Linked DNA regions of Homo sapiens: region 1 is linked to region 2. Evidence: promoter capture Hi-C in 16 types of primary human blood cells and fetal thymus (Javierre and others, 2016). All regions are on one chromosome and are shown on one strand. The core of a region is centred on a gene start or on the middle of the fragment in contact, and the rest is flanking DNA. Distances in the headings are between cores, read along the strand shown.

Evidence for each region. Contacts are between HindIII fragments. The CHiCAGO score rates a contact against its expected background, and 5 or more counts as called.
Region 1: a fragment that was not itself captured here is called in contact with the fragment with the promoter of ZNF101 in region 2 in 3 of 17 cell types (total CD8 T cells, non-activated CD4 T cells and naive CD8 T cells); the score reaches 6.5 in total CD8 T cells.

The regions. Positions count from the first base shown.
Region 1 is chr19:19,888,491-19,891,190 of GRCh38, forward strand. The region is part of intron 3 of ZNF253 (zinc finger protein 253); the gene reads left to right. Among named protein-coding and RNA genes, the nearest start is that of ZNF93, 11 kb to the right of the region's middle. The HindIII fragment of the contact is 211 bases long and covers 1,230-1,440 here.
Region 2 is chr19:19,667,424-19,670,123 of GRCh38, forward strand. It overlaps ZNF101 (zinc finger protein 101), which reads left to right and starts at 1,416. Exons shown (of 4, transcript NM_033204.4): 1 at 1,416-1,543. The coding sequence starts at 1,541. RefSeq lists enhancers at 1,105-1,671, 1,672-2,237 and a silencer at 1,626-1,825. The HindIII fragment of the contact is 10,038 bases long and covers 1-2,700 here.

The sequences.
Region 1 (2,700 bases), core at 85-2,584, 220 kb after region 2:
CTAGGCAGGTAGTTTCTTAGTGGTATCTAGGGGATTACATAAAACCTCTAAAAGATCCAACAATATACTTTAATGCAGTAAAAAATTAACTTCAGTTGCATGCAAACATTCTTCATTACATCTGCCTTCAACTTTGTTATTGATTTTGCTAATTCTACTTATGTTATATATTCATTAACAGATGTTTATAATAATTCCTCTACTTCCATCTTTTGCATTTTAGAGAATAACTAAAAGTGCTTTCTGTGCCATTATGATAATAAGTAAGGAATTCTATTTTTGTGTATGTGCATATCTTCTCCAGAAAGTTATGTATTTTCATATGATCATGTGTTGTTTTCTTGTATTATGTTATTTTCAGTGGAAGAAACTTCTTTCAGCATCTTTGATAGGTAGGGCATATGCAGTGCCAATATACTTTCTTAGGATTTGGTTATTTTGGAAGGACTCCTTTTTATATGATAGTACAATTTTGCCGATGGTATTATTTTCTGCAAAAATTTTTTTTGATAAATTCACTGGTTATCTTATAAGACTATGCTTATAAATGACACATCATTTTTATCTTGCAGCACCCAAAATTCTTTTCTTATCTGTGATTTTTGAAATTTTGCTTATAGGTGTGTTTGTGATAAATATCTTTTTGTGTATCCTAGTTTGTTCAGCTTCTTCATGTTTACATTATTTTTTCTTTTAAGAAATTTTTAAGTTATTTTTATATTTTTTATATCCATAATTTTTGTTTTTTTCTATTTTAATATTTTTTCTTGTTTATCCTCATTTTTCTGATCTTCAGTAGTCGTCTGTGTTCCTATTTCACTTACTGAATATCATTCAATTTCTTTTATGTAATTAATTAATTTATTTATTTTCTGAGACAGAGTCTCACTCTGTTGCCCAGGCTAGAGTGCAGTGGCATGATCTTGGCTCACTGTAACCTACCCCTCCCAGGTTCAAGTGAGTCTCCTGCCTCAGCCTCCCAGTAGCTGGGATTACAGGTGCATGCTGCCACATTTGGCTGATTTTTGTATTTTTAGTAGAGATAGGCTTTCACTCTGTTGGCCAGGCTGATCTTGAACTCCTGACCTCAAATGATCCACCCACCCCAGCCTCCCAAAGTGCTGGGATTACAGGCATGAGCCACTGTTCCTGTCCTACTTTATTTTTTTTTTGAGACAGGCTTGCTCTGTTGCCCAGCCTGGCCAGCAGTGGTACAGTCACTCACTGCAAGCTTCCCATCTTGGGTTCAAGCAGTTCTCGTGTGTCAGTCTCCTACGTGGCTGGGATTACAGGCACATGCCACCACGCCCAGCTAATTTTTGTATTTTTAGTAGTTACAGGGTTTCACCATGTTGGCCAGGCTGGTCTCAAACTCCTGACCTCATGTGATTTTCCTACCTTGGCTTCCCAATGTGTTAGAATTACAGGAATGAGCTTCCAAGCTTGGCCTGTTCAATTTATTCTGAATTTTAAAAATTACTTTATTCACTTTTTATGGCTGCTTTTGAAAATTTTATAATTTTTTTGATGGGCCATGCTGCCCAAATATTTTGTATACATTGTAATCTTTGAGTGAGATTCAGGCATTAACAAAAAGCTACCTGTGCCAATCTTTATAATATAGTTTTGTCCTTGTGTAGTCTGAAATCAATTGTTTTGGCTAGAGATTCTGGGAATTTCTCAAACATGTTTTTAGGATGTGTCTTGTCTAAAATTTTGTGTTTATTGTTTAGTTAAATCGGCTTATTCATATTTCTTCCTAATAATCAGTAATCACTTGCTACAGCCATTCCTGTTTGGATTACTGCAGTTTCTCTGCTTCTGTAACATTTACCTTTAGACTCAGCAGACTCAAACTGTCATTCTAACATATCACTGTTTCAGCATTTTATGTCATGGGAGACATTAGCCGGTGTCTAAAAAAGTTCATAGATGCCAGAAATAAAGATGTATGTGCCAATATTTTTCTTATTTTTAAAAAAGAAACCAGGAGTTGGCAATTTATATTTGTGTGTGTGTGTGTGTGTGTGTGTGTGTGTGTGTGTGTGTGTGACAGAGTCTCACTCTCTTACCTAGGCTGGAGTGCAGTGGCAAAAATCTTAGCTCACTACAATCTCCGTCTCCACAGTTGAAGCAATTCTCCTGCCTCAGCCTTCAGGTAGCTAGGATTACAGGTACCTGTTACCATGCCTGGCTAATTTTCTGTATTTTTAGTTGAGATGGGGTTTCACCATGTTGGTCAGGCTGGTCTCAGTCTCCTCACCTTAGGTGATCCACCTGCCTTGCCTTACCAAAGTGCTGGGGTTACAGGCATTAGCCATCATGCCTGGCCAACAATTTAATTTTTTTTTTTTTTTTTTTTTTTTTTTGAGATGGCGTCTCACTCTGTTGCCCAGGCTGGAGTGCAGTGGTGCAATCTTGGCTCACTGCAGTCTTTGCCTCCCTGGTTCAAGCAATTCTCTGCCGCAGCCCTCCGAGTAGCTGGGATTAAATGTGCCCGCCACCATGTCTGGCTAATTTTTTGTATTTTTAGTAGAGACAAGGTTTCACCATCTTGGCCAGGCTGGTCTTGAACTCCCGACCTCATGATCCACCCACCTCAGCCTCCCAAAGTGCTGTGATTACAGGCGTGAGCCACCATGCCCAACTGGCAATTTACTTTTAAAAGCACAATGTTATACTGGGCAGCAGGAAGAGCTG
Region 2 (2,700 bases), core at 166-2,665:
GGTTGCAATGAGCTGAGATCGTGCCACTGCACTCCAGCCTGGGCGACAGAGCCAGACTCCGTCTCAAAAAAAAAGAAAAAAAAAGTGGTTTACTCCAGTTTTTCCCTGCATTTAATAATTTTGTTCCCTTTAAGGCATGTTTTTATTTTCTTGGCTGAAAAGGAGTAGCCTGAGAAGAAGTAACGTGTAGGAAGCCTTGGCCATGGGACCAATAGCCTCATAAATTCCTGATCTCTGGAGGACATCAGGGCCTCCTACCTGTTCCATTGTGACCTGGGAGTCTCTCCAGCTCCAAGGTGGAGGGATGGCTTCACTGAACACGGAGTCTGGAATTCCGTGCACACTCATGTGACCGGTGTTCCGGAAAAAGAAGCAGGAGGCGGCTGGGCGCGGTGGCTCACGCCTGTAATCCCAGCACTTTGAGAGGCCGAGGCCGGCGGATCACGAGATCAGGAGTTCGAGACCAGCCTGGCCAACATGGTGAAACCCCATTTCTACTAAAAATACAAAAATTAGCCGGGAGTGGTGGTGGGCGCCTGTAATCGCAGCTACCCGGGAGGCTGAGGCAGGAGAATCGCTTGAAACCGGAAAGCGGAGGTTGCAGTTAGCTGAGATCGTGCCATTGCATTCCAGCCTGGGCAACAAGAGCGAAACTCCGTCTCAAAAAAAAAAAAAAAAAGCAGCAGGAAGGACCCACTGAGTACAGGAAGCCGACAGGGCCTGCTCCGGAAAACCAGGAGCTGTAAGGTCAGCCGAAAGGACGAAGAGACCTGAAGTCAGTCAAGTAAGTTTTATTAACCTGCTGGGCTGCTCCCCCACAGTTAGAGGAGGCAGCCCCGCTTACAGACTACAGCAGGGCTTTATAGGGCGAGGAACTGGGCTGGGGTGTGAGAACTGAGTCGGGGGTGCAGGTGTCCTGACCGCATCCTGGAGATGTTTTTGCCAGCTTTGTTATGCAAGGTGGGCAGGTGTTGTGACCGCATCCTGGAACTGTCTGCCGGTTCAGCTGAAGTCTTTTGAACAAACAGTTACTGGAAGGGTCAGTGGGGAGGAGGTCTACTTCTAGCCCGGGGGGAGTTGTGTGGCGGTCACAAAGGACTGTATTGTAAGACTGATGGGGGAAGGAGGGGAACAGTCTGGTTGGGTTGACCCTAACGGGAGCAAGTTCTGCTTCCATGCAAGTCCAGGTCCAAGGTCCCAGCGAGGGGCTGTGGGTAGCACCTGTCAGTCACACCCCACACAGCGAGCGGATTATTTGAGGATTCCGATCACCTCTCCTGTCGCTCAAGCCCCAGGGGCGGGACCTGGGGCACCAGCCAGTCAGAGGCGCTGTGCGGCAAACTGTCCAATCAGGTGCGCCGGGAGGAGGGGCAACTTCCAAAGCCCGAAGCGGTCTCATTTCCCGCCGGCCCCCCATTCGGGTCCGGGTTTTAGTTCCTCGGGGAGCCCCTGGTGCCCCGGATACGGCTGATTTTGTCGTGTGGGACCTGTTCTGGCTGCTCCAGCCCCAGGAAGGACCCAGGACACCCGGAAGCCGGAAATGGTGAGCGTGCGGAGCCGGGCGTCCGGAGACCTGAGGAGGAGCTGGTCGGAACCGGCAGTGGCTGGACCTGGGCCTCCCCGCGGCGACTGTGGGGGTCTGGGACCCGAGTCCCCCAGGCGCAGCTCGACCCTTGGTCCCCTCGGTCGCCGGGTGGAGCTGGACCAGCCGCCGGGACCCCGGGTGTCCTGTCCCGGCCCCGGAGCCCTCTCAGGGCAGCTCCGCGCCCGCAGCCCCGCGTCTCCCCAGATCGTGCGGGGGCCTCAGGAGGGTCTTAGGGGGAATCCCGCCTCGGGTGTGGGGTTCGTGCGGGAGGAGCCGTGGCCTGTGGGGTCCCCAGTTCCTCCTCCCTTAGGCGGTCCCCGTTTCCTTCGGAGTCTTCCAAAGGTGTGGGAAGCTGGGTTTCAAACCCACGACCCCGTCCCCCAGCTTCGCTCCTCCCAGGGCTGCAGTAAATCCCTAAATTTCCCCGCATTCCCCAACCCTAAGTTCTCCCTCCAGTACATCCACTTCACATTATTATTATTATCATTATTTCTATTATTTTTGAGACGGAGTCTCACTCTGTCGCCCAGGCTGGAGTGCAGTGGCACTGTCTGGGCTCACTGCAGCCTCCGTCTTCCGGGTTCAAGTGATTCTCCTGCCTCAGCCTCCTGAGTAGCTGGAATTACAGGTGCCCGCCACCACGTCCGGCTAACTTGTATTTTCAGTAGAGACAGGTTCACCATGTTGGCCGTGCTGAAGTCCTGATCTCAGGTATCTGCCTGCCTCGGTCTCCCAAAGTGCTGGGATTACAGGCTTGAGCCACTGCGCCTGGCAAGACCCAGTGTTTTAACTGTCATCTTTTCCAAGGAGCCCTAGATGGCACTTCTTAAAAAGTTCATTTTCCGTTTGTGAACATTTCACATGCGAGCAAAGCAGAAAATAACCCCCTGACACTCCGATGTTAAAAAAAAAAAATCACTGTGCCTGCCCTCTTTTTACCTTCCCTAGGCGCGGCCACCTTATCAGACAGTCTTTGGGTGGAGGCTTCTCTTGGGAACTTCACAGGGTATTGGGTCCTCAGCCCACCCTCCTATCTTTCTGGTCCTGGGTTTCAGGACCGTCCAGGGACTTCTTCCAGCTGCCCTCGGAAGAACGGGTGAAAAGTCTGTCCTGGC